Linked DNA regions of Homo sapiens: all the other regions are linked to region 3. Evidence: promoter capture Hi-C in 16 types of primary human blood cells and fetal thymus (Javierre and others, 2016). All regions are on one chromosome and are shown on one strand. The core of a region is centred on a gene start or on the middle of the fragment in contact, and the rest is flanking DNA. Distances in the headings are between cores, read along the strand shown.

Region 1 (7,015 bases), core at 2,048-4,547, 460 kb after region 3:
AGCTTTCCCCATCTCAGTTGAAGGCAGCGCCATCTCCCACTCCTATCGCTCAGGACAGAAACCCTCAGGTTGTCCCTGGCTCTTTCTCTCAGCTCTGCCTCCTAAATATGTCCATCATCCACCTAGGTCTCATCACTTCCACTGCTCCTTAATAGGGATTTCTGCCTCTCCCCATCCCCCTGGAGTTTAGTCTTAAGAGCGAAGCCAGGGAGAACCTTTGAAAACCCAAGTCACATCATGCTACTCATCTGCTCACACCCCTACCAAGGCTTTCCTGAGAAAAAAAGTGAGACCCGACCCTCGTTACTGCTGGGACTTCCTCCCCCACTGCTCTCCCTTCACTTTCTTCGTTCTGGGTCCTTGCTCTTCCTCAGACATGCCATGCACACTCCTACAGGGGGCATTTGCTGCAATGGTCTCCTCAGCCTGGGCCACTCTGCATCTACCTGCCCACTTGGCTGCCTCCCTTTCCTCCCTGCTATCTTAGCAGAAACCTCACCCCATCCCCCTTCCTGGTACTAAATATTTTGTTCTCTGTGGCACATACCATCTTCTAACAGATTTATTTTTGTTATATATGTCACTTATTTTGTTTGCTAATCTATTCTATGTGCTTAGAACAGTGCATGGCACATTGTAGGTGCTCAATAAATATTGTTGAATGAATAATATTAAAATATAAATGCTGCACTTTAGAGATTACAGACATCTCTAGAATGAGAGTATTGGGTGAGATAATATAGCACTTGTGTAGTTGAAAATATATCAATTGTATAGTTCACTGCACCTCTGTGAAGCAGATAGTTCATTTATTGCATTGATATTGGTGCCATGAAGTGTTAACTTCATCAGACACATATATGTGTGTGCGCAAGTGCGTTGAACATCCCTAATCCAAAATCCAAAATGCTACAAAATCGAAACTTATTGGGCACCAATATGATTCTCAAAGTAAATGTTCATCGGAGCATTTTGGATTTCGGATTTTTGGATTAGGGATGCTCAACCTGGATGCATTCTGCTGATACTCCACAATGCAAAAAGAAAAAAAAAAATCTGAAATCCAAAACACTTCTGGTCCCAAGCATTTCAGATAGGGATATTTGACATTTGTGTGTGTGTACGCATTCGTGTATGCATCTTGATTCCTGATTTGTCTGCAGAATGAAACCATGTGCTGGAAGCTCCCTAAACCCATTTCTCATGTGGAGCCTCTGGGGAAAACATAAACTTCCTAGCCTGCTTTCTGGGTGTGGACAATTTTTACAACATCTAAGAGGATTTGAAACTATCTCCACCCCATGTTGTTGGCGCCATGGATAGTTGCATAGATTTATGGATCTATCATGTTATTGTACAACCTGGCACAAAAGCCGATAAGTGTGATTCTGTTTTATTAGCATACAACCTGGTTTTCATCACTTTTGAGATGGTTATGTGTCTAAGATTTATGTCTAAGGAAGAAAGCTTCCTTTGAGAATTGAGCTCACTGTTTTCATTTTTAGAAGTGTAAATTGGATCTTGCGTGATAGCATTCAGTAGGTGAGGCTCAAGTAGGTCTGCTCAGGCTGCGACAGTTGGCCTTCTGAAATGTCTGGCTTGATAACTTGGATGAGGGAAAAAGGGAATCTGACCATTATTAACAGCTGTGAGCATCATATTATACTTTTCGTTCAGGTTTGTGAAGTTTTTTTTTTTTTTTTTTTTTTGAAACAAGAGTCTTGCTCTGTTGCCTAGGCTGGAGTGCAGTGGCACAATCTTGGCTCACAGCAACCTCTGCCTCCCAGGTTCAAGTGATTCTCATGCCTCAGTCTCCTAAGTAGCTGGGATTACAGGTGCACACCACCACACCCAGCTTAATTTTTTTTTGTATTTTTAGTAGAGACGGGGTTTCACCACGTTGACCAGGCTGGTCTTGAACTCCTGACCTCAAGTGATCCGCCCACCTTGGCCTCCCAAAGTGCTGGGATTACAGGTTTGAGCCACCATACCTGGCCAAGTTTGTGAAATATTAAGATCCACTTGTCTGAGTCAGTAGATAATCTTGTGCTTATCTTATATTTTAATCTATATTACCCTACCCAGAGTTAATGATTAGATTATACACCAGGAGAGATATTGTATAACATCCCTCCACCAACTGTGAATAGATAAATAGTTCATGTAGGTATTCTTGTTTCTCTTATCAGGCTATAAGGAAGGATTCCGTTTATGAATCTTTTAAATACCACCAAGTGGATATGTCTCCGAATGATTTGCTGAATGTACCATTTAACTGAAATATTTACAGCTGAGTTGATTTAATGTCTGGGACTTGCTTCCTATAGTCCAGAAGATGAAAGAGTGGGGCATAGAGGAGACATTGATCATGAGTTGGTATTTGTTGAAACTGGATGGTGTATACATGGGGGTTCATCACACTCTATTTTTGTGTATGTTGGAAATTTCCCTTGATAAAAGGTTAAAGGGGGGTGGGGAAGAACCTTGGAGAAACATGTACCATTTAAACCAAGCTCAGATGTAAGTATGTGCTGTATCAAAATAATGGAAAATGCTATATGGCTATAGATGAACCAGGTTACACCTTAGAAAATCATAGGGCCATAGTACCTTCATCCTAGCTGATTGACCTCGATGAAGTTGGCCTCAGCTGGGCCATCTGTAAAATGGGAATACTTTTTTTTACCTATCTTACCTCACAGGACTTAAAAAATATATACCTGAAAATACTTTCTAAATATGACTCATTTCAACTAGCATGTATTGAGTGCTCACTAAATATGCTCAGTACTGAGGATACAGTCGTGAGGGAGACCAGGTCACTGCCCTCAGGGAGCTACAGAAAAGTAAATAAACAATAATAATAGAGTATAGGAAATGCCATAATCAGGCTGAGAACACAGTGTTGTGCTGTAGGAGCCCTCAGGCATGGCAGGAAGTGGTAAGTTGTTAGGGAGGCTGGAAGGTGTGTGTCCGTTCATGTGTGTGTGTACCAGCTTCCTACAGGAAGTGATGTTTAGGCTGAAAACCATGGGTCCAGTAGGCGTAGAGTTATTAAGGTAGGGAGAGCAATATCTATAAATGCCCTGAAGAGGGAAAGAGATAGCACAGATGATGTGTAGAGGCTCCAGCAGGAAGCGGGGAAAGAAGCAGGGCCCAGATCATGAAGAGTCTTGTGAGACTCGTTAGGGAGTTGGACTTGATCTTGAGAGCAATGGGAAACTATCAAAGTGTTTTAAGCAAGAGAGTGACACGATCAGATAGGTGGTTTAGCGAAAGTATTCCAACTGCAGTGTGGGGAGTGGATTACAGAAGACAGGGTGAGTAAAATTCAGAAGAGAGGTAACAGAAACATACTGGCTTTCCTGATAAATAGCCCCCCACTCCAAATCTAGGTTCTAAACCAGTTAATTAATTAGATGAGTGAGTGAATGGATAATCAAAATATTTTGCTGATTTTTTTTTCATTATAGATATCCAGTTGACCCAGCACTGTTTATTGAAAAGATTATCCTTTCTACACTGCACAGCCCTATCACCTTAGTCATAACCTAAGTGGCTATATATAAGTGGGCCTATTTCTGGACTCTGTTCTGTTGGTCTTTTTTTCCTTGTGCCCATTCTATGCTGCCTATGTATTCCTCTTCAAGATTACCTAAGCTGTTCTTGGCCCTTTGCATTTTAATTTAAATTTTAGAATCAGTTTGTCAATCCCCCATCATCATAAAAAAAAAAAAAAACCTCCTGGAATTTTGATTGAGATTGCATTGAATCTATAGACACTTTTGATGACAATTGGTACCTTTCTAATTCATGAACATGGTATATCCCTCTATTTGTATAGATTATGTTTTATTTTGTGAAATGTTCTCAAGCTGAACACTTATGATTTGTGATCTCTCTGTGCATACGTTTTATTTCAGTGTCATTACTGATGAAGGCAAAGTTGGAAGGTATAGATTAGTGTGAGAGGCAAATGGGCCTGCCAGCTGATTCCCAGAATTAGACAGATTTGCCCACACAATCTCAGCAACATTGGACTAACTCAGGCCAATGTGAGATAGAAAGACCTGCCCCTTGAGGAACAGCAGAGAAGGCTGACTTCCAAGAGGAGGAAAGAGAAGAGCTAAGCTGAGCACGCCCAGTATATTTTTCTTAAATTCACCTATCAGATAAGTAATTTCACTCTCCCAGGGAAGGAAACATAAAGGGGAAGAGAACGGCAGGAGTGTCTAATTGTGTCCAGAGAGTGTCCATTTGAATTTCTTTACATAGAAGGGGACATCAAGGTAAGGGATGTATTAACAGCTTGAACTATTGTCATGGAGAGAAATGGATGGTTTGGGGAAATATTTTGAAGATAGAATCAAGTTTGATAGTATGTGGGGGATAAAGAAGAGGGAGGACTTGAAGATTGTGCCTTCGGCAACTGGCTTAAGCAGCTGAGTACTATTTTCTGATTAGAAAACAGTGGAGAGAGAAGATATTTGGGGAGGAAGGACATGGGTTAGACTAGCTGGATTTGGAAGTTCTTGTGGGACTGTATCAAGTAGAGACATCCAGCAGGCAGATGGATACATAAGTCTGGTGATTGGGAGAGAACTGTAAATGTAGGTTTCAGAGTCATCAGCCTAGAGATTGGGCTGGAAGACTCTGAGCAAGAAGGCAAGCCCAGACGAGACTGTATTCTCATGAATACAGGTGGTACCTCTGTCTCCCACCTGTGGACCTGAGAGGGAATTTCTTCATCAGGCTATTTTCCTGTGACCCCAGTCTGGCCCTACTCTCTGTTTCTAAACTCCTTCCCTTTTTATGAGTCACTTAGATGATCACTTCTGACCAACCACTTAGGGAAAGGAGTGTCAGGTATTACACATGGATAGGTAAGTTACAGATACTCGAGTGAGTCTCAGGACCTAACCTGACATGGCTTTATATAGAATAATGCTGGGTTTTTGGTGCCAGCTCATTCCGTGTCCTAGCTCTTTAGGCACTACCAGTCTTGGCCCACTTAATTATTGGAAAAAGTAGTCTTTTTTGCCTTACTGGAAAGATTTCTAAACTGAATGGTTTGCCAGGTTGGTTGTTTACTGGATTCCCTGCGGAGAAATCTTTCAAGAAGCTTCTTTCCCATGGTCTTCCTGTCTTAGCTGATTTCCGTTAGTGACTTCTGACATCTCTCTCTTGAATTCTGTCTACACTTTCTACAAGGCGTTGTGTTTGTAACAGCCTCTTTTTCAACTCTTGTCATCTTGAATCTCATTTATAGAATTATAGTCACCCAAATTAATGCCTTTATGGTATCCACATTGTAGCTTTTACTTGGGACAGATAATTAGAATTAAAATTGTGTATAAATGAGAGTGACTAATCAAGTTTTTAATTAGCCAAATTACAGTAAGAGAATTTAAGTATTTTCATACGTATCTCAGGTAGTCTTTTTTTTTGTATTTAATTTTTGTGGGTACATAATAGGTGTATTTATGTGGCACATGAGATGTTTTGATACAGGCATGCACTGTGAAATAAGCACATCATGGAGAATGGGGTATCCATCCCCTCAAGCATTTATCCGTTGAGTTATAAACAATAAAATTATACTCTTTAAGTTATTTTAAAATGTGCAATTATTATTGACTATAGTAATCCTGTTGTGCTACCAAACAGTAGGTCTTATTCATTCTTTCTATTTTTTATGTACGCATTAACCATCCCCGCCTCCCACCCAGCCCCCACCCAGGTAGTCTTTTTATCCATTCTAGTAAAAATTTATTAAGCTGCATAATCATATAAAATTAAAACATGTCAATAAGGTGATGATCTTAGTTCCTTAAAAATGAGAGATCTATGTCCTAATCCTTTGAAGACTAGAAATAAGCTCTAGAGAACTCCAGAAGCTAATGAGATATATACTCTTTGACTAATTAAACACAAGGGTCAAAACCTTGTTGTGATTATCTGAGACCTAGAGTATTGGCTGTCCCTCGTTTTGGTTGAAAAATAAGATTGTGTCTCTTGAGTTGTTGGAAAACCTGTGGTTTTTAATGAGCAGATGGTATTAAGATGCCCACTGGTTGCCTGGGTTGAATGAAGTGTTTGGGATTTTCAGACTTTGGCTTCTCTCTCCTCAGAGTGTCTCAGTTTTGTTTCCTGATCTGGAAAAAGTAAGGAAGGAGGAGGGGAGTTGGTAGGGAAAGGGAAACAGAAACAGTGAACCAGTATTACAGGATTATTCTTTGTCATGTTGGGTGCTGCTTTCTGTTTTATATATGTTTGATGTGAACTTTCTAAAACACTCAGCCTAGCGTATTTTCTAAGAAATATTTAGTTGCAGCCAGATTGTCACCAAGAATCATATTCCCAGAAGGTTTTCAAATTGTGTTAAGAGTATAGTGGTTGGCCGGGTGTGGTGGCTCACGCCTATAATCCCAGCCAAGGCAGGTGGATCATGAGTTCAGGAAATGGAGACCATCCTGGCTAACACTGTGAAACCCAGTCTCTACTAAAAATTCAAAAAATTAGCTGGGCATGGTAGCATGCGCCTGTAGTCCCAGCTACTTGGAAGCCTGAGGCAGGAGAATCGCTTGAACCCGGGAGGTGGAGGTTGCAATGAGCTGAGATTGCGCCACTGTACTCCAGCCTGGGCGACAGAGCGAGACTCTGGAAAAAAAAAAAAAAAAGTATAGTGGTTATTAAACATGGAGGACAGATAGCCCAGGTTCAGACTTCAACTCTGCCTCTTCCTGGGACAAGTTACTTAACCACTCAGTGCTTTTGATTCCTCATCTGTAAAATTAGAGTAACAAGAGAATCTACCCCAGAGGGTTGTTGTGAGGATTAAGTAACATGTAATGGTTAGAGAAGTGCCTGGCACATAGTAATCACTTGATTAACGTTAGTTATTATTATTGTTGTCCTTATTGTTATTAGAGTAGAAAGAGTACCTATAAATGACAGTACATTTTCCAGGGTTATTTCTATTTATTTATTTATTTATTTATTTATTTATTTGAGG
Region 2 (7,132 bases), core at 2,116-4,615, 290 kb before region 3:
CTGTCTGATTATAAGAAGCCTAAATATCCTGAGACCACCATGGTAAGGCCCAGCTAGCCACATAAAGAAGTCACATGGCAAAGAACTGAGACCCGAGCATATGACCCCAAGTGAGCCATCTCAACCAATTCCCAACCATTCAAGCCACCGAAGCCAAGGACCCAGACATTGTGAAGCAGAGGCAAGCCACCCTCACCGTGCCTCTCCAGATACTTGACCTACAAAATCATGAGCAGCTAAAATAGTAGTTGCTTTAAACCACTAAGTTTTAGGGTAGTTTGTTCCACAGCAATAGGTAACCAAAACTCTCTGTGCTGTTCTCTTTCTCCCCATTCTTTCAACTATGAGAAGACATTACAGGGATTTGTAGTCTGACACAGTTGGATTTCATTACAAATCCTATAGTCACAGTACTGACCATGGAAACAAACTAACATTCTGACCCAAAAGATGCAACGTGCCAAACACTCAGACAACTATCTTCCTAGAAACTTCCAACTAAGTATTGTAAGATATCCAATAGTGCATGGGTGTTTTCGAGCTGGAAATAATCAGGTCATTCTTGAACTTGGAAAACCAAATTGCCAGCCTCTGACATCACAAAAGGATTTCTCTTCTCTGGAACCTGCTCTGCAGAAGTTCATCCAGAGGCTGGACCCTCCAAGGGATACACCCTGGCTCCGCCACCTGGTCCTTCTACATGCTGGTCCAGCCTCTGACTAGCATGGATGGGGAGCATCTGGGAATCATTGAGGGGCTAAGGGAAGTGGCAAGCAAGGAGGGTTATGGGTGTGGGTGGGAGCAAAGCCACAGCTGCAGTCTTCAGAGATCATCTGGGTGGGCCCTGAGACTGAGACCCCAACAGGATTTGAACCCAAAGAAATCTGGCTGTTTGACTTCTCAAAGAAGGAGGTAGTCAGTCCCTGTCAACACTGGCCTGAAGCTTCTCCAAATGATGTTTTCCTAGCACACCGAGGTAAAAGTTGCTTGGTTGCCCTAAATCTTGAAGTCGGTCTCTTCCTAACAATCTTTCTGACATGCACGTCTCAAATATTCAGCGTGGTCCAGAAGTTAGAAATCACTGTATCCATCCAGATGAATGTACACAGATGTTTCTGACTTCATTCTCACATGAAAAAAAATAATTGAATTGCTCTTTCCCATTTTGGGATATTTTGACTTAGTTTACTGGGAATTTTTCTGGCTAGTATACAGCTGAAGTTTTGAAACTTCCCAAGAATGATACATTTTAGTTGTTCTGCATAAACAGATGTGACCACCATCTATTCTAGATCTAGACCCTTGCTACTCCAGGAACCAGCAGCATCAGCATCACCTGGGAGCTCATCAGAAAGACAGAATCTCAGGTCTCACCTTAGACCTACTGCATCAGAATCTGCTTTCTAACAAGATCTTCAGGGATTTGTGTGCCTACTACATTTGAGAAGCTCTGATCTGGGGGACCACATCCTTTGGCTGCTGCTCCAGGAACATCCAGCTCCTCCTTCATCCCATACAATTTCTTGAAGATAGAATCATTTTTCAACAAACATAAAGACTGGCTTTGAAAAGCAACCCCAAATAGACAAACTCACTGCCTCATATAGCAAGAACTCAATTAGGTATGGGTAGAAGTTTACCTAGAAGGGTGCATGGTTGAATTATGTCCCCCTAAAATATATATTGAATTCCTAGCCCCAAATTCCTCAGAATATAACCTTATGTGCACACTTAGTTCAATATGACTAGTATCCTTATAAGAAGAGAAGAGATACACAGGGAGAAGACGGCCATGTGATGATGGAGGCGGAGACTGGAGTGATGTACCTACAAGCCAAGGAACGCCAAGGTTTGCCAGCAACCACCAGAAGCTAGGAGGCAGCCAAGGAGGATTCTCCCCTACAGGTTTCAGAGGGAGCATGACCTTGCTGACACCTTGATTTTTAACTTGTAGCCTTCAAAATTGTGAGACAATAAACTGTGGTTTTCAGCCACCCAGTTTGTGATACTTTGCGATGGCAGCCCTAGAAAACTAACATCGATCAGAAAGGGGCTTAATGGACTCATGCTATCTAGAAGAGTCTCCACTCCTTTCTTGGCCCCAAATGAGAGCTGCAGTGTCTCCTGCAAGGGGCCCTTCCTTCATGATTCAGGGCTGAAGAATCTCTAAGCACTATTGCTATCTCTGGTGATAACATCACAGAAACTTTTCCAGCAATAGGAAGCAAACAGAAGTCAAGTATTGAAAAATGCCTCATATACCCCTGCCCCACCCTGTTTTAAGCACTCTGGGAATGGAAGGAAGTGAAAGCACAAATGCTCCTCAGAGCCTAACTCCCTCTTCAGGAACTCAGCCATCAAGCTGGCTGGATTGATGAGGAGGATCCTACAGAAAATATCCCTTATCTGGCCTCTTTTTAGCTCTGTTCCTCTTATTGTAGCAAGGATCTTAGCTGGTTTGGTTTGTTCCATTGAATGCCATGCGGAACTTTCTGCTGTTCTTCAGCAACATCACTGATGCATTGTAACCCTGAACCTCAGGCTGAAAGGGGAAATCCTGCCTGGTGCCCTTTCTCAAGATACCAAATGTATGTTTTTTCATTTTCTCTTATCCCTCCCTGTTGTTTACCAAGCATCATTTCGAAAGATCTCAAAGCCAAAAAGAACCTCAATAAACATCTGGTCCAACTGTCTTACACATGATGAAATGGAGGTCCAGAAAGGTCAAATGCTGGACAGCAAAGCCAACATCAAAAAAAAAAAAAAAAAAAAGGAAGAAAGAAAGAAAAACCCTTAGACCATCCAGCTCCCAGTTTCTGCTAGCTTCATGGCCACAGCACAGTAAATATACTGCCTCTTGACAAGTTTTCATCTGAGGCAAAGTTTAGACCACAACAACAACTTGAGCACAGCCTTTGAAGTTGAACAGACATCAATTTGGGTTCTAAATCTTCCACCTAGATGTTGGGTGACCCTGAGCAACTTAACCTCTTGGTTTCCTCATTCCATGTAGTGGGGACAACACCACCTATCCCAAAGACTGCTGTGATGATTGATAAGATAATCTATGGGAAGTCCCATGTCAGTTGGGATGGCTGGTTTTAGCTCACAAGTAAAAGAGAGACTATTTCTTTTTGTGGCTCCCTCTTGGGGGTGAAGAAACTTTTCCCAGAAGTCCCCTCAGCAGCTTTCTTCAGTCTCATTGGCCAGAGTTGATCACGTGTCCATTTAAGGACAATAGGAATAAACTTAAGTCAATCAGGCATCCCTGAAGAGGTGGATGAGATTAGCTTCCCCCAGGACACATGGCTGAAAAAAAAAATGCACAGTTCTGTTAGAAAATAAGGCAGAATGCATGCTAGATAGGCAAGAAGCTGTGACAATTACAATAAATGTTTTCCATTAATTTCTGACAGTTTTTGTGGCAGCAACTGAGGGATTCTCTTCCTTCCCCCACCATGCCATTTCATTCAAAAGGAGTTTCCTGACATTCCTGCTGTAGCATCCCGCCATTCCTCTGGAAAATATGTCAACTCAGCTATTCATCCCTGGTGACTCACCAAATATGTAAGCTGCCCCAACTCCACGGTTATACCACAAGTAAATATCTGAGGATAAAACCATCCATGTGAATAATGCTTTCAAGTTATAAAGTTCTTAGACGTATTTAATGTGAGCCTCTACATCTAAGGAAAATGAGGATCAGGGAGCAGTGAAGGGACTTGCCCAGGGTTCTTACCTAATAGGTGGCCATGCTATGTCTAGAATGAGACCCCAAATGCAATGTGCTTTCTGCAACTCTGCATTGCCACAAGGAATCCTAAGTAGAAATTTGGCATATATGGCAGTCACCAGCTAAAAAGATAATTGGTGCCAACTGCATTGTGGGGTTCTACAGCCTGAACCCTAGGATACCCTTCTTTCAAGATGCATTCATTTTCTAATCCAAAATATTCCTAGAAATACAGATAGAACTTCTCTTTGTTCAGAGTAGAATGTCCCATTTAGCAAACATTTATATAGCAGTTGCCCTGTGCCAGGCATTATGCAATGTGCTTTACAAGTATTAATTTACTTAATCCCATTTAGTTCTATCTGCTTAGAAGTCCCAATGTCCTGAGGTAATACATGTTTCACAAAAGTCTTGTATGATTTATTTCATTGGCAATCTACCAAAGGATGAGGTCCTGAAACAGTCCAGAGTTCAGGAACGGATCAAACTTTCAGGCAAAAATCTCTTCCATCCTTTGTCCTACTCTTGTACTAGAAACAATCTATGCCCAAATTGCCCAGTCAGAACAAACACATGTAAACAATCACACTGCAGTCTGCAATTACTTAAGGAAAATTCTGGATTGTCCTAAACTTATTATAGGACATAATCCTTTTGTCATTCCTTTTTCTATTTTAGCAGATTATAATCTTCCTTAAAAGGCAAGGGAGCTTTCTGGTTCAAGTTTAGGAGGACCAAAGGGCATTGGTTGGTACTGCTTTCCTGTCAACATTCTTAATCTTCCTGTTGGTATTTTAAAATAACAGGTCAGCCATGAAAATTATAAACGGTACAGTGTAAAAGTCCCTGTGAAGTGCTGCCATTTGCAAGAAGAGGGCTTTCTGACAGTTGAGAAGTTATAATATGCCTCCCTGCTTTTCATGTGACAATAATTACTATCTAAGCTCTGAAGTGTTTATTCCCACAGCCAGGAAGACGACATTTATAACAGGTTCCAGCCATGACCCATTACTCTTTGCAATATAGAATCCCCATTTTTCAGTATGGAAGGATAAGGCCTTCAAAGTGTAAAAAGAGAGCACTTAAGATGTTTTTATTTTTTTCCATTTAACAGTCTGGGATAGCCCTTCTAAGAAGGATACGATCAACAGTCTCACATTCTTGCAAAAACAAGTCACAATTTTATAGACTTGATTAATAAGTACCAGTCGGTGCCCTTTTACCTCTTAGTCTTTTTTCTCTGTCTTTTTGAAATTAAAATTTGCCATAGATATGATAAACCAATAAAAATTACTACTCATACGTTGAGGAACTAGAGGAAATTCTGTTAAATTCTAAGAAATTTTGCTTATTTGAAAACATGGTACATTTTGCTAAAATAAATTGCCTTTGATCAAACAGACGACTGTTACAAATAGGCACTCCTCTATAAAATGCCAAATGAAGAAAATTAAAATTTTCTTCATGCATACTGTCTATGCCAATGCTTCTGATACTTTAGCATGCATAAGAATTTAGCAGGTTGTTAAAACACAGATTCCTACCCAGCCCCGGAGAATATGATTCAGTAGGACTGGTGTGGACCCCAAGGTTCTGCAGCTCTAACAGGCACCCAGTTGCTGATGCTACTGCTGCTGGTCTGGAAACCACCCTTGGAATAGCACTGTTCTATACTAATAGCCTATTCAGTGAAGGCTGAAATCCCACCTTTGGAGATCCCTTTCCTGGGGTAAAGAAATGTGCAAATAAAATTTGCAAACCCATGTTATCGACCAAAGCAACTAAAGCTGTATTATAAATTTGGGTTTCAATTCAATTAAGCAAACTTACTTTGCTGCCTTGTACTGCATCAGCTGTAGACATCAATCTTAACTTTAAGAAGTATTCAATCTATATATGTATATAAATAACAAGGCAAATTATAGCAAGGCTGTGATATGACAAATACCAAAAATAAAGTACAAAAATCCTATGAGGATATCATTTTCAGGGGATATCAAAGTGAAGATAAGTAGTCAGAAAATAGTCAAAGAATGCTTATAGAGAAAGCTTGCAAGATACTTTGCAATTTGCCATAGAGCTTTCATATAATCTCATTTATCCCATAGAAAAGGCCTATGAGGTATATATGACTTTATCTATTTTATAGATGAAGAAACAAAGGCTGAGAGCGCTAAAATAATTTGTCCAAGTTACATTAAAAACAAATGAGTAAGATTTTAAGTGATGAAGCTAAGATGAAAGTCATCCCTGGATGAAGAAAGAGCTGGAGAAGAGAAAGGAAATTATGAGGGTCTGATAGTAACAAGAGTATGAATAGTAAAAAAAAAAATGACATTATTTGCCCACTTAATAATGCCACATACAGTACTAACAACTTAATACACATTACCTCATGTAATCCTAAAAAGGAATCCCATAAAATAAGTATTATTATTATCCCCGTTTACCAAGGAGGAAAACTGAGGCACAGAAAGTTTAAGTAACATGTCCAAGGTCACACAGCTAATAAGTAGCTCTGCCAGAATTGGCACCCAGCTCTCTTAGTGTTTTAGTAGAGAGCAAGGGGTGTACTGGATGACTAGGAAATTTGATGCTACAGGTGAGGGGCAGATAAGATTAGAAAAGGGACTATCTACCTAAGAAGGGTTGAATTTGATATGGTAAGCGAAGGGGAGTTAATGAAAATTTTGTTTTGTTTTATTTTAAATATGAGAGTAAAAAGATCAGAAATCTGTTTCAGAATGATATCTCTGGAAACAGAGTCTAGGATGGTTTACAGGGGGACACAGAAGGCCAAATTTATCAGTTATGACTTCCAGGATTCACCTGAGAGCTGGAGCCAGAAGACTGTGACAAGCCCCAGATAAGTATTGAATCGCAGGAAGGAGGAGAAAGGGCTCCAGAACTGAGATTTTGTTCAAGAGGACACACTGCAGAGAGGCATCATGACCAGCCCTAAGGGTTGGGGACCTCAAGTAGACCTTAGAGAAGCCTAGAATCCTTGGGTTGGTGAGATACTTTACAGTTTGCCATAGAGCATGCATATAATCTCATTTTGTCTTTAGAAGAAGCCTGTGGAATAGATATCACCTGCTCTATTTTGTTTTTCATTTTTTGTTTGTTTGGTTTTGTTTTGAGACAGGGTCTCATTCTGTCACTCAGGCTGGAGGGCAGTGGCGTGATCACTGCTTACTGCAGCCTCTGCCTCCCAGGCGCAATCAATCCTCTCACCTCAGCCTCCTGAGTAGCTGGGACCACAAGTACACACCACCACACTCGGCTAATTTTTGTATTTTTTGTAAAGATGGGGTTTCACCATGTTGCCCAGGCTAGTCTCAAACTCCTGGGCTCAAGTGATCTGCCCACCTCAGCCTCCCAAAGTGGTGAGATTAGAGG
Region 3 (7,443 bases), core at 3,655-6,154:
CTCGAACTACTGGCCTCAAGCTCGATCTTCCCATCTCAGCCTCCTGAGTCACTGGGATTACAGGTGGAAGCCACTGCACCTGGCTTCTTGCTGTTTCCTGAATATACCAAGCATGCTTCCACTCAGGGCCTTTGCCCTTGCTGTTCTCTCTGCCTAGAACACATTTCCCCCAGATGTCCACCTGACTCACTTCCTTCCAAGTGATTAAGATGATCAGTCAGATGGGGGAACCATCCTACAGTAGAGAAATGAAGCCTGATATTTTTTTTTCCTCTTTGAGGTTTTATACTGGGTAATTGACAGAAACTTTTTATTTTTAAACATTTAGAGTTCCGGACTCTTAGAGTCTAACTACTTACCATGTACTAGGCACAATTGCTAATTGAATGCATTATATCAATTTAATTCCTGCAACAACCTAATGTAAGTACTATTCTTTTTTTTTTCTTTTTTTTTGTTCGTTTGTTTGTTGGAGATGGAGTTTCACTCTTGTTGCCCAGGCTGGAGTGCAGTGGCGCGATCTTGGCTCACTGCAACCTCCGCCTCCTGGGTTCAAGTGATTCTCCTGCCTCAGTCTCCCAAGTGGCTGGGACTATAGGCGCCTGCCACCATACCCGGCTAATTTTTGAATTTTTGAGTAGAGATGGGGTTTCACCATTTTGGCCAGGCTGGTCTCGAACTCCTGACCTCAGGTGATTCGCCCACTTCGGCCTCCCAAAGTGCTGGGATTATAGGTGTGAGCCACTGCGCCTGGCCGGTTAGTACTATTCCTACATCCAATTTACAGATGAGAAAACGGAAGCTTGTAAAGAGATTAAAACTTGCCCAAGAAAATAGAGTAATAAGTTACTGCAGAGCTTGAATTTGAACCCAGGCCTCTCTAACTCCAAAGCTCAAGTTCATAATTATTTGACCTTGGAGCAAAATTTAAATAAATTTCATAAAAAATCCTTTCATCCTCAATTATGTAAATTGAAAAATATTGCAGATAGAAAGAGAAACCCAGAACTTTGAGTCCCCCATTATCTTTCAATTTCACTCTAAGAAGTGCATCTGTCATTGGGTTTCTCAATATCAGCTCTGCTGATGTTTTGGGCTGGATAATTGTTTGCTTGTATGGGGGAGGGGAGATTGTACTGTGCACTGTAGGATGTTTAGCCGCATCCCTGGCCTCTGCCCACTAGATGCCAGCATCACTGCCCCCCTCCTCAAGTTATGACAACCAGAAACATTTCTGGTTGACGCTGCCAAATGTTCACAGAAAAGAACCACTATATTAGATGATGATACTTTATTTCTGTCTTCTAAGTATGTGCAAACCCTGGTGTTTGTGGAAAGGTGATTTATTTAAAATAAGTTTACTTGGTTTAGTCAAAATAAGTTTACTTAGAAATAAATCTTGTAGAGTACAGCCCAGCATTAGCCAGCTGTATTAGTTTGCTAGGACTGTCATAACAAAGTACCACGTACTGAGTGGCTTAAACAACAGAAATTTATTTTCTCATTGTTCTGGAGACTGAAAGTCTAAAATCAAGCGTCAACAGGGTTGGCCTCTCTCCTGGGCTTATAGATGGCTACCTTCTTGTTCACGTGGTGTTCTCCCTCTATGCCTGTGGCCTAATAATATCTTCTTGTAAGGACACCAGTCAGATAAGGGTCCACACTAATGACCTCATTTCAATTTAATCACGTCTTTGAAGAACTTATGTCCAAATACAGTCACATTGAGTTACTGGGGATTAGAACGTGAACATACGAATTTTGGGGGGGACACAATTCAGCCCATTAACATTGAGCTTAAGTCTTTTCTCCCCTCCCTCCCTTCCTTTCTGTGTGTATTGAACACCTATTATGTGCCAGACATTCAGCTAAGTGGGGGTAATGGTAAGCAACAAACATGGTCTCTGCCCGGTAAGGTTTACAGTGAGGTAGGACAGACAGACTTAAAGAGTAATAACAAGTGCCATGCAAATATTATGCTTTGGTAATGGATGCCAGGAAAGCCTTGCCCTTCCCATCAGGCTCCCAACCCGGCTGGGCGAGTGAAAGGACTGCGTTATGAGCTAACCGGCTGGGCACGGTGGCTGACGCCTGTAATCCCAGCACTTTGGGAGGCCGAGGTGGGCGCGAGTTGAGGTCACGAGTTCGAGACCAGCCTGGCCAACATGGTGAAACCCCGTCTCAACTAAAAGTACTAAAATTACCTGGGCATGGTGGCACATGCCTGTAATCCCAGCTACTCGGGAGGCTGAGGCAGGAGAATCGCTTGAGCCCGGGAGGCGGAGGTTGTAGTGAGCCGTGATCGCGCCACTGCACTCCAGCCTGGGCGATAGAGCAAGACTCCATCTTAATAAAAAAATTAAAATATTGGCCGGGCGCGGTGGCTCACGCCTGTAATCCCAGCACTTTGGGAGGCCGAGACGGATGGATCACGTGGTCAGGAGTTCAAGACCAGCCTAGCCAAGATGCTGAAACCCCGTCTCTACTAAAAACACAAAAATTAGACGGGCGTGGCGGCACGTGCCTGTAATCCCGGCTACTCCGGAGGCCGAGGCAGGAGAATCGCTTGAACCCGGGCGGCAGAGGTTGCAGTGAGCCGAGATCGCGCCACTGCACTCCAGCCTGGGCGACTCTAGAGCAAGACTCCGTCTCAAAAAATAAAATAAAAATAAAAATATACATATTTTTTAAAAACTGAGCTAACCACGAGGTTAACGAGTCAGCCACTTGTGAAACCGGGAGACGCGCGTTTGCTACAAAGCAGCAGAGGTCTGGTCTTAACCAGCAGCAAGCGCCACCTCAACCCGCCCTTTTCTATGACGCAGAGTCTCTCCCCCTCCCTCCCTGACTCCGCCTTTTCCCTGCTTGAGGCCCTGCCCCTCGCGTCCTCTCTGGCTTGCTGCGCACCCTCCCACAACGCGTCTCCCTCGGCTCTAACAATAGGAGTCAGTCGGCCACGCCTGCGTCATAAAGCCTGGGGGCGGGCCCAGCCGGCGACGGGAGGCGGGGAAAAGCGACGCAAAGAGTCGCGGCGCCATTTGCTGCCGCCGAGCGTGGACGCAGGCGGATCTCTGAAGAGCTGGGTCGCCAGCCTCTCCCGCGCACGTTGCCTGGCCTCCAGCACCTACTTGGTCCCGCGCGCTCCCTCGTGTCGCCCCTCGGAGCAGCAGCCGCCGCGGTCGCCGCTACCCGGAAAGAAGTCAGAGACGCCGCGAGGTCGCCGCCACCGCCATGCCCAAGAATAAAGGTAATGCCGCCCGGACCCCCGGACCACGGCTCTGCTCGGCCGGGTCTCCCAGGTCCTGCCCGTAGATTGCAGGTCACCCAGGCCGCAGTGACCCTTTTTCCTTCCCGCCCTGCCTGCCCGCGGCTGGGCGCCCCACACGCGACTCTGAGCTCGGGAGAGGAGCTGGGAAGTTAACTCCTGTTGCCCAGTTTGGTCACATTGGGGTGGAGCCGGCGCCATTTTTGTAGGGCCTCCTGCGGGAGAATGTGGGCTTTTGCTCCTGATTCGCGCCAGACTGACCGCTGCTCGGTGGGGACGGTGGCGGGAACCTTCCCCGGGGCGGCCTAGGTTTAGTAGATAGGCCCCTTTGGCCTTCCCGGGCATGAGGGGTTATAATCCCTGGAAGCCGTTCTGAACTTTCAGAGTGCTGTCTGCATTCGTGAGCACCAGGTACTCCTGCATGGGTTTCTTTATGGACAGTTCAGTATTGTTGAGGCTACTCGCTGTCCCTTGTGAACAGTGGGTGAAACCTTGATACATTTCTAAGGCTCACCTCTAGAGATTTACTCTCTCCATCCCTTTACAGGATATAGCTTATGTTTGTTTGCTGAAGACTTATTCCATATTGAGCCAAGTTTTCTACTTTTGCTTCAGATGATGCATATGTTGTGAGAATAAAGACCTAATTTAAGTGTCCTCCATTCTGAGGCTAAGCGTTCACAAATGATCAGACTTGAGGATAACTTTATTTGGGATTTCCAAAACGGAAGGCCTAATCTTAAAAAAAAAAAAACAAAAACAAAAAACAGAACACTCCTAAAGAAATTACTTTTATAGATTTACAGTGTTCCTGTCATTTTTAATAGCCGTATAACTTGAAGAAAATTGTGCAAGTAAATATAGGGAAAATACTGTATTTTCCTACAGGAGAGGAGCATACTTCATAGTCCGTAAGTAGTCTCCTTTGATTATTCATTCTAGAGGAAACCCTCCCCTGACACAGGCCTACTTCTGCTCTCTTTTCTACTTGACAGCTGGCTCCAGGGATTCTACCACATTTCCTCTTTGTAGCTGTCACTTATTACTTTATCCCTTAGGGTACTTGGTCGAGGTGTTCTGTGCACAAGTTGGTGCAGTCACTGCTCATTATTTTGGAAAAGATGGAGTTATAAACAAAAAATTTTAAAGTCTTACAGTTTTCTTCTGTATAATCCTTTATTCTCTCTGAGGTGGTAAGGGGATCACTTCCATCTTATTCTCACCTTTATTTCTAGTAATAAGATTTCCAATTCTTCCACCAGGCTGTAAGCTCTACAAGGCAGGAATAGTATCTGTCTTAATCTCATTGGATTGCCAGCACTTGACAATTAGTAGATGCTTAATAAATATTTGTTGGTTTAAGTCACCTACCTCCTGTCGACTCCACCCTTAGTGAATAATAGGTTCTGCTTTGGTTCCAAGGGGATAGGACTTCTACACTAAATCACATCTAGTTCCCTAGCCTCATGTCTTAAGAAAGAGCCTCTCTGGGAATTTCTCCAAAACAACTCTGGTTTAAAGAATGTTGATGTCACTTTAATTGTTGTACACTCAGACCTAGTCTCATTCATTCAACAGAGAATTTAAAGAACATCCCATTACATGGCAATAAAATACAAAGGGGAGTGATCCGGGTATGGTTAATTCTGGTAAATTGACAAGTAATTAGTCTTTTCTTAAATAACATTTGAGGCATACAAAAAATACAGCTAACATGATATACCTGGGAACCCATTACTCTGAATTTAAGAATTACAGCGCAGATTGAGGTAAAGCCCTAATCACCTTTTACTCTCTTTTTGGAGGTAATCACCAGGCTGAGTTTGGTGTTTATCATTCCTGTACTGTCTGAAACCAATCAGTTCTTAGTTATCTTACTTAGAGGAATGGTACTTTTCATGACCTAATTTAAGTGTCCTCCATTTTTTTTTGCTGCTTCCAAGCTCTTCCCATGAGTCTCTTAGGGTCATTACCACTTACAGCCTTTTTCCTGCCTTTTGGAAATGGCTGCCAATGTGGTTTCCTTTCTGGAATGGGAGCAAAATGCTGTGGAGAGGTAAGCTTATGTGGGGGCTAGGGGCAAAAAAAACATTGTGACTTTGGTCACCCCAGCTTACTGACTGTAATCAGTGAACTGATTTACTCACTGAAGCTAAGCGACTTACTTAACTTCTCTGAGCTTCAGGGAACTCATGGGTAAACTGGGAATAAATGAATGTTATGACCTCATGGGGTGATTGTGACAAGTAAATGGGCAGAATTATTGCATAGTGGTTAAGAGCATGGTCACTGGGGTCATATAATAGAAACAGGGATGTTGAGTAGGGACCAGCATTATAAAAGAAAGTAAATTGGGTACCGAACAGATCTTCTTTATTTTTTAAGAGACAGTGTCTCGCTATGTTGCCCAGGCTAGCCTGGAACCTCCTGGGCTTGCTCAAGTGATCCTCCCACCTGAGCCTCCTGAGTAGCTGAGACCCTAGGCGCACACCACTGCACCCAGTGAGATTTCAATATTTATGGTACTCTGCTACCAAAAGTTTGAAAACCACAGTTCTCTGTCCAGACACTGTCTTCACTTAATTTTGAAAGTATCGGGTTCCTTGCATAGGGCCTGGCTTTAGAAGACACCCAAGATTTCCGCTTAGAAGAATATGTATAGAATTGCATTTTTATTTCAAAAGGATGGGTGCTAAAGTGAAATGTTTTTCTATATTTTTTAACATAATATCTGCTATTTATGTGTATTTTATGTCAGAAAAATCCCCAAAGGAAATTCCAAGAAGGGTAGGGAGGTGATAATGTGTTAATGTTGGGATTGGAGATTGTAAATTTAATATGATTGTGTAGCTAAAATAGATGAATTTTTTAATTTAAGTGATCTTTTAAAAAATGGTTTTATAAGCCTTAATTTCATTTTATTTCATACTGTTTTACAGATAATTAATGTCATTTACCTCCTTTTCTTTTTTTTAAACCATCAGGTAAAGGAGGTAAAAACAGACGCAGGGGTAAGAATGAGAATGAATCTGAAAAAAGAGAACTGGTATTCAAAGAGGATGGTCAGGGTAAGTGTTTTCATAAATTACGCTTTTTAAAATAACATCCTTTCTTTTTTAGCTGGGGACTTTATTTTTTTGAGACAGCGTCTTGCCCATCGCCCAGGGTGAAGTGTGGTGGCACGATTACAGCCCACTGCAGCCATGACCTCCTGGGCTGAAGCAGTCCTTCCACTTCAGCCTCCCGAGTATTTGGGACTACAGGCACACACCACCACGTCTGGCTAATTTTAAAAATTTTTTTAGGCTGGGCGCAGTGGCTCACGTCTGTAATCCCAGCACTTTGGGAGGCCAAGGCGGGCGGATCACGAGGTCAGGAGTTCGAGACCAGCCTGACCAACATGATGAAACCCCGTCTCTACTAAAATTACAAAAATTAGCTGGGTGTGGTGGCACGTGCCTGTAATCCCAGCTACTCAGGAGGCTGAGGCAGGAGAATTGTTTGAACCTGGGAGGCGGAGGTTGCAGTGAGCCGAGATCACACCACTGCACTCCAGCCTGGGTGACAGAGGGAGACTCTGTCTCAAAAAAAAAAAAAAAAAAAAAAAAAAAACTGTATAGAGATGAGGTCTTCATATGTTGCCCTGGCTATTCTCGAACTCCTGGGCTCAAGTGATTCTCCCACCATGACCTCCCAAAGTACTGGGAACTAAGAATGTGTCGTATAGTTCAGAGGGAATTGAGCTATGGTTGACAGTTCTGTGATTTAGTTGGCAGTTCTATGATTAGCATTTCTGGTAGTGAATGGTACATATAATATGTTGAGTAGACCATGGACATTTGAAGGATGAGCCTGAGGCCCTTATAGACCTCTCCATTCTCCAGTGCCATTAGCATATAACTTCGTAAACTACAATAAAATGAAACTGAACAGTTAACTGATTTTATTAGACTGAAGAATATTGTAAGTGCCAGACCAAGATACATAGCACTAGTCAAATAAATCCTAACTGGATCGTTTGCCCTTTCCTGTTACTTTTATTTCGAGTCATTTCAAACCTACAGAAAGTTGCAGTATTAGTGCAACAAACTCCCTTAAATCCTTCATCTGTACACACACATATAAAGAAATATATATGTGGGATTTTTTAATTTTTTTTTTGAGATGGAGTCTCGCTC
Region 4 (7,513 bases), core at 1,685-4,184, 310 kb before region 3:
CCTGCACCAGCTGAAAACCAGAAAGCTCGGCTGAAAATGCACCAATATTTTTACTCAGTTGCCTCTTTGGCTCACCTGCAAAACCCAGAGACAAGCCTTCATCATTACCATGAGGTACATCTGGAAAAAGACAGCTAAGGAGCAAGTCAAAGTTACCTTTGAGTGATTAACAACTGAGATGTGAATGTGGTGTTCCAATAATCTAAATATCGTGTGAGAATTCTGGGCTTTTGAGTTACTACTATTTAAGTGTGTAAATTACAAGTAAACTTCTTTTGTAAGAATCCTAAACTGATGAAAGTGGTTTTGTTTTTGTTTTGTTTTGTTCTGGGAGGGAGGTTTTTTTTGTTTCAGTTCTAGAGCCCGGTAAGGTAGAGAGATTAGTCACATCCTGAAGCTAGAAACATTTGGGTTTCCTTCTTTAATTTTTTCTTTACGAATTTAATACATATCTTATTGACCTGAAGTTCCCAAGGCTGCTCTATTTTGTTGTCAGCTTCTTTTCTGTGTCTCACATCCACTGTTAAATCGGTCCCTAGGTCAGGGGAGTGGGCAGGCCCTAGGGAGAAGAGGGGATTGTGGGTGATGCTAGAATCAGTCCTTATCCATTTTACATTATCTTTCTTTTCACTTACATAGAGGTTTACAGTTCCAAATCTATTATTCCATTTGATTTTCACAATACTTACAAAAGAGGCAGAAAAGGCATTATTGTGGTGGTCCCTCGTGAGAAAAGAACTTGTTTTGAGGTTCCAGCAAGCAAGCATCAGGACTCAGATAACCTTGCCCAAAGAAAAGGAAGACTCCATTGCACCCGTAGGCTTAGGGAGGGATGGATATAAGGAGAAAAGGAACACCCACTTAGCCAGTCAGATCAGTGGAAACAATCCTGGCAACCAGTTCAGTAACAGATGCTCCAGCCAGATGGCCCTCTCCTTCATTTTACACATGAGGAAACTGAGGCCCATTCACTCAACAAATTCACTAGACAAACATTTATTGAACACTGTACTTGGGATACTGTATCTAGAGTTGCATTCTTACAAGGGAATTAGACAATAACCAATAGATAATTGCTCTGAAGAAAAAGCAGGGTAAGCAAAGAGGGGGACAGGGGTGCTATTTTAGATAGAGCAGTCAAGGGAGTCTTCTCCAAGATGCCACTCAAGCAGATACCTGAATGCAATGAAGGAGTCAGCCCATGGATACTCAGGACAAGAATATTCTGGGTAGATGGAGCAGCAAGTGCCAAGATTCTGAGGCAAGAACATATTTGGAGAGTTAAGCAGCAGGGAGGCCAGTGTGGCTGAGGCGGGGAGAAGGAAGGGAAGAGTGGAAGGAGATGAAGTCAGTCACATAGTGGGGATGGGCAGGCTGCGGGCAGGGGAGATTACATAGGGACTTGGAGGCCATGATATGAGTTCTCAATTTCATTTAAAATACTACGTGAAACCAGGCCGGGTGCGGTGGCTCACACCTGTAATCCCAGCACTTTGGGAGGCCGAGGTGGGCGGATCACAGGGTCAGGAGATTGAGACCACCCTGGTTAACATGGTGAAACCCCGTTTCTACTAAAAATACAAAAAATTAGCCCGGCGCGGTGGCAGACACCTGTAGTCCCAGCTACTCAGGAGGCTGAGGCAGGAGAATGGTGTGAACCCGGGAGGCAGAGCTTGCAGTGAGCCAAGATCGCACCACTGCACTCCAGCCTGGGCGACAGAGCGAGACTCCGTCTCAAAAAAAAAAAAAATACTACATGAAACCTTTGTAGATTTTAGACAAGGCAGTGACATAATCGAACTGTTTGTAAAGGATCAGCCCACCTACTGTGTTGAGAAAAGACTGTAAACAAAGCAAAAGTAAAAGCAGGGATAATGGTCCAGGCAAGAGAAGATAATGAAAAGCAGAGAGATGATGGTAGCTTGGACCAGTGGATTATGGTGAGAAGACATCAGAATTCAAATATTTTTCTAAGAGAGAGCTGAGAGGATTCCCGAAAAATTGGATTTAGAAGTATGAGAGAAAGAGAGTAATCAGGGGTGACTCCAGTTTGTGACCTGAATAGTTGAGTGGATTATAGTCCCATTAACTTAGATCAGGCGTCAGCCGACTTTTCTGTAAAAGGCCAGATGGTAAGTATCTTTGACTTTACAGCCCACACAATCTCTACTGTAACTACTCAACTCTGCTATTGTAGTACAAAAACAGCCACAGATAAAAAGCAAATGGATGGGCATGGCCGTGTTCGAATAAAACTTTATTTACAAAAACAGGTAGTTTGCCTACACCTGGCTTAGATGAAAAAGCCTGCAGGATATTCAAGATGGGGTGTAGGTGGCCTATGGCAGATTGTGTTTCCAAAGATGGCCACAACAATATACTACATGCTTTTTTGTAATATGACTTTGCCATGCCCTCTTCAATTGAAGAGGTAGAGTCTATTTGCCCTTCCTTTGAATCTAGGCTGGCCTTTTGACTTACTCGGCCCATGAAATGAGGCAGAAGTAGGGCTGTATGCCTTCCAAGAGTAGGTTATAAGAAGCCGTGAAGCTTCTGCCTTTATCTCTAGAATGCTCATACTTGAGAACCTAGTTATCATGCTGCAAGGAAGCTGAAGCACCCAGCGAAGAGGGCTGCAAGGAGAATGATTGAGAACTCTAGCCGAGAGTCCTAGCTGAGCTCACAGCCAATAGCCAGCATCAAGTGGCCAGTGTATGAATGAGCCATCTTGGAAGTAGTACCCCCAGCTGCATTAGCCACCTTAGCTGATGCCATATAGAACAAAGATGAGATGTCTTCATAAAGCCCTACCCAACTTTATTATATATATATAGATAGATAGATAGATAGAGAGAGAGAGAGACAGAGAGAGATGGACGGAGAGAGAGAGAGAGAGAGAGAGAGAGAGACGGACGGAGTTTGGCTCTGTCCCCCAGGCTGGAATGCAGTGGCGTGATCTCAGCTCACTGCAGCCTCCACCTCCCGGGTTCAAGTGATTCTCCTGCCTCAGCCTTCCAAGTAGCTGGGACTACAGGCATGTACCATCATGCTTGGCTAAGTTTTGTATTTTTGGTAGAGATGGGGTTTCGCCATGTTGGCCAGGCTGGTCTCAAACTCCTGACCTCAAGTGATCCACTGGCCTCGGCCTCCCAAAGTGCTGGGATGACAGGCATGAGCCACAGCGCCTGGCTTAAGCCTTACCCAACTTTAAATATTGTAAGCAAATAAATAATTGTTGCTGTGTTAAACCACTAAGTTTTGGGGGGCGGATTTTTACTCAGCAATAGATGCTGAAGTGAGGTGTGTCAGTAAGCTTTCATTAGGTTATGCTGTGATAACAAATGACCCAAAGTCTGAGTGGCTTACAACAACAAACTTTTCTTTCTTGCTCATGTATATGTTGGCTGCAGAACAACATCAGTTACGCTCCATGTCTTTTTTATTCCAGAACCCAGCTGAAGGAACAACTCCTGTCTAGTGGCAAAAGAAAAAGAGCAATTGTAGAACTATGCAATGTGTTTTAAAGGAGATACTCAGACATGGTATATGTCACATTTCCTTAGGCAAAGAAAGTCACATAGGCAAACCAGCCAACAACAAGACAGGGAGATATACTCATTCCATGGGGACGGCCTGCAAGTCAGATGGCAATGGGCAGGAGTATCAAATTCTCTCACAGGGAAAGCAGTGAATAATTGGGAACGACAATACCATCTGCAACTGAGGGAAAATCGAGCGTTCATTTTGGAGATGTTAGATTTGAGGTGCAAATTTGACTGTTTGAGTAGAAGTAATTGGTAAGAGGTTGGATATATGAATCCAGAGTTCAGGAAAGAGGCCTGGAGGCAGATATCATTTGACAATAATGAGCATAGATAGTGTTTAAAATCATGGGACTGATTGAGAGCACCTGGGGTGGGAGATTAGTTAGAAAAGAAATGAAGTCTGAGGACCGGGCTCTGAGGACACTTGATATGGTTTGGCTCTGTGTTTCCACCCAAATCTAATCTCAACTTGCAATCCCCACGTGTCAAGGGAGGGACCTTGTGGAAGGTGATTGGATCATGGGGGCGGCTTTCTACATGCTGTTCTCATGATAGTGAGGGAGTCCTCACAAGATCTGATGGTTTCAAAGTGGCAGTTTCCCCTGCTCGCTCTCTCTCTCTCTGCCACCTTGTGAAGAAGGTGTCTGCTTCTCCTTCACCTTCCATCATGATTGTAAGTTTCCTGAGGCTTCCTTAGCCATGAGGAACTGTGATTAAAGCTTCTTTGTTTATAAATTACCCAGTCTCAGGTAGTATCTTTATAGCAGTGTGCCACTAAAAGGTTTGGAAGAGGAGGAAGAACCAGCAACAGAAGAGGAAACCACCAGTGAGGTAGAAAGAAAACCAGGAGAGTGTGGTGTTACACAAACCAGACAAAAAGATGTTTCAAGAAAGGAGGAGTCAACACCTGAGTCAAAGGTGCTGAGATGACAAGATGAGGCCTATTAACCAATGGATTTGGCAACATCAAAGTTATTGATGACCTCCACGAGATGGTTTCAGTGGAGCAGAGGAGAACAAGGCTAGCCCAAGAGAAACTGTCAAGTGAGGAAGTGAAGACACCAATTATAGACATTACTCTCTCAAGGAATTTTGTAGCAAAGGTGAGTGCAGAAATGGGGAAGTACCTGGAATGAGATGAATGATCAAAAGAAAACCTAGAAAATAGGAAATAAAGTAGCAGGTTTATGTGCTCTTTCAATAAGCACATCACAGTAAGGGATCATTGATAATATAATAAGTGGCTCAGACAGGTTAAGGATTTGCTCATGATCACATAACTGGTATAGAACCAGGATGAGAATTTAGATCTCCTGATCCCCACTCTGGTGTTCATTCTGCTGTTCAGTCTCTCCTAATAATATTGGCCCTACCACCGAGAGTATGTGAGAATCACTGTGCATAAGGCCAGAACTAGTGTAAACATCACTAGGCTCCCAATGGGCACTACCCATTAGGCATCCACAAATTGTAGAAGAGAGGTTCAGCAATGCACACCCCAAAGAGAGGACAAAGAGTCTCCTGTGACACCCCTATCCTAAGCGGTATGTTTGCATGTGCACTTTTATAAGGTGTTCCATCTTGTCCTACTTATATTAACCTTCAGGAAGGTCGCCTCAGTGAACTTGGGACATGCTGTTCTTTTTCAAAGTGAATTTGCAAAATATTGCCAGTTCTTTCTTCCCGAAACAAGAAAGAAGAAAAATATCCTACTGCATTATTTCAATAGCTCTAACAAGACGAAATTTTGGCTTCTACCAGGAATAACAAAAGAGAGAGGGAGAGAGAGATTCTGGCTGCAGTCCCTGTAATAACCTCTAATTAGTGCAATGAATAACAGCCACCATCTCTTCTGTTTCCTCAGACCTTTCTGTCACTTCTCTAAGGGTCATAGAGGTTAGTAGCATCATGCCATCAAGAGGCAGCATCTGATTCTCAGCTGCTATTGGCTTTTATCCTTGTTGTTACCCTCCAACATTTGCATCTGTAGCCAATCGTCCACAACTCTTCATGACTTTCTCATTCTAACCTCAAGGCCCCTTGAATTCTCCCAACCTATGCCTAGCCACTTCCATAATGCTCCCAGGGGTACAGAAAAATCTGGATCTTCTCTGATACCACTGGAAAGCAACAAGAGACTTGAGAGTTGGTCTCATGCCCTTCCTACCTAGACTCTCCTAGATGTGCCCCCACTTCCACTCTAGATGATACATTGTGGGGAGAACTTAGACTTTTTCATCCCTTTTCTGTCCATGCCCAAAAATAAAGCACAAGATTCTCTCTACCCTCAGATCCCCAAACCTATCTGAGGGGTTTATCATGCTCATACCCAGTAGCATGCTGGAGCCAGCTCATACGGGCTTCCTAGAGCAAATTGTGTGCATCTCTTTCCAACTTCACAATCAATGATGTCACACTGGTAACTTGAAACTGGCCATAGTGGGAGTATTTACACCAAAAATTGACGAACTGCAAATTAGGGGATTTTTTTTCCCCTTGAAGAACCATCTTTTAAACATTTGCCAGCACATCACTGCCTGTGCCAACATCTTAACTTGACCGGGACAGGGAGTTGTGCGGGGGTCACTGAGCCCCTTCTTAAGGACACACCAATGTCTAAGCTACTCTCTCTCTCTCTCCTTTCTACCTTCCTCTCACTTGCCAGCCTCTGGAAATGTCAAAGTACAACTCTCATCAGAAATATTTCCCAAATATATTGTTTAAGGCACCTAGCTCTCACCTCCCACACATTCTAACTTAATTGGTCTGGGAACAACCTTGGCATTGGGGATTTGGTACAGGTGTAGCCTTGCCACTGGGGATTTTAAAAGCTGCCAGGCAATTCTAATGTGCAACAAAGTTTGGAAACAAGTGTTTAAGATACTGGCTCTCCACCCTAGTTGCACAATGCATCCTCTGGGAAGTATATATATATATATATGTGAATGTCCACCAAAAATCAATTAAAACTGAGTCTTTGCAGGTGGAGTCCAGACACTGTTAGGCTTTACAACATCCTCAGGTGATTCTAATGCAAGGAGAGGATTGAGAACTACTGGTTTATAGCAGAAATTTTGGCTCTGATAGTGTTAAAACTATGCCAGTAAAGCTCAAAACCTTAAAAATTTATTTAGAAGCTCAAAAGCTGTGAAAAGTCATTTCTTTCTATTTTCCTGCTATAACTACCCTACCTTGGGAGCAATCTGTAGAGAAAGGTTTCACTGCTGCCTGAATGGTGCAAGAAAGAGAAGTAAATGAATTCCTGTGGATGGATCATGCAGGGGTTACCATCTAAATATTACTCCCCTACAAGAATTTAAAACAAAACTATCAAAACTACATTCTCTAGTTTTCTTCAAGAGACAGGGGGAAATGGGGTAATCCCCAGGCTTCTGTCTTTTGTTTTTTAGAGTCTAGTTGGCTTTTCATTCTGTTTTTATTTTTCAGACACTCAGATCACTTTAAGGATCTTGTGGCATTGAGTCTCTACTTTGTAGCCAATTGGTCTCACATTTCAGAAGCTTGTTCCTCTAAAATGCACAATTAAATGCTGTCCCATGCTTTTTACTAAAAACTCCATTAGATACTCTATAACTCTCATGATTTTTGTAATCTTACACCCCAGTGAACCCTCAAATCACTTTTCCCTCCTAGATATTTCCCCTTTCCATTTTGATTTATTCAAGAGTTCATCCAACAGATCCACACGCTCAGTGATGGAGGTGGTGATAGTGGTATTGGTAAAAACACTAAATTAGCCACCAGCTCTATTATTTCACTGTGATATTAAGATATATCCCACAAATCCATCAACATGCCCACATGCCATAACAAGCTCACATGCAAATTGAGAAGCAGCCCTTTCAAGTCAGACTGACATGGATTTTAATCTCATGTGTGCCACCAAATAGACATGGGCTTTGGCAAGTTAATCAACCTCTCTGGGCCTCAGTTTCATCACCCATGAA

What was found. Contacts are between HindIII fragments. The CHiCAGO score rates a contact against its expected background, and 5 or more counts as called.
Region 1: a contact is called between a fragment that was not itself captured here and the fragment with the promoter of EIF1AX-AS1 in region 3, in 2 of 17 cell types (total CD8 T cells and activated CD4 T cells). The highest score is 6.5, in total CD8 T cells.
Region 2: a contact is called between a fragment that was not itself captured here and the fragment with the promoter of EIF1AX-AS1 in region 3, in 1 of 17 cell types (neutrophils). The highest score is 5.1, in neutrophils.
Region 4: a contact is called between a fragment that was not itself captured here and the fragment with the promoter of EIF1AX-AS1 in region 3, in 1 of 17 cell types (non-activated CD4 T cells). The highest score is 5.8, in non-activated CD4 T cells.

Annotation. Positions count from the first base shown.
Region 1 is chrX:19,675,075-19,682,089 of GRCh38, reverse strand. The region is part of intron 6 of SH3KBP1 (SH3 domain containing kinase binding protein 1); the gene reads left to right. Among named protein-coding and RNA genes, the nearest start is that of MAP3K15, 160 kb to the right of the region's middle. The HindIII fragment of the contact is 3,655 bases long and covers 1,470-5,124 here.
Region 2 is chrX:20,428,663-20,435,794 of GRCh38, reverse strand. No RefSeq gene overlaps it. Among named protein-coding and RNA genes, the nearest start is that of RPS6KA3, 170 kb to the right of the region's middle. The HindIII fragment of the contact is 4,839 bases long and covers 946-5,784 here.
Region 3 is chrX:20,137,429-20,144,871 of GRCh38, reverse strand. EIF1AX-AS1 (EIF1AX antisense RNA 1) reads right to left here and starts at 4,904. Exons shown (of 2, transcript NR_046592.2): 1 at 4,637-4,904; 2 at 4,428-4,537. EIF1AX (eukaryotic translation initiation factor 1A X-linked) reads left to right here and starts at 3,034. Exons shown (of 7, transcript NM_001412.4): 1 at 3,034-3,247; 2 at 6,250-6,333. The coding sequence starts at 3,232. RefSeq lists enhancers at 2,923-2,972, 3,033-3,302, 3,633-3,792. The HindIII fragment of the contact is 4,524 bases long and covers 805-5,328 here.
Region 4 is chrX:20,445,531-20,453,043 of GRCh38, reverse strand. It overlaps the pseudogene RN7SKP183. Among named protein-coding and RNA genes, the nearest start is that of RPS6KA3, 180 kb to the right of the region's middle. The HindIII fragment of the contact is 763 bases long and covers 2,553-3,315 here.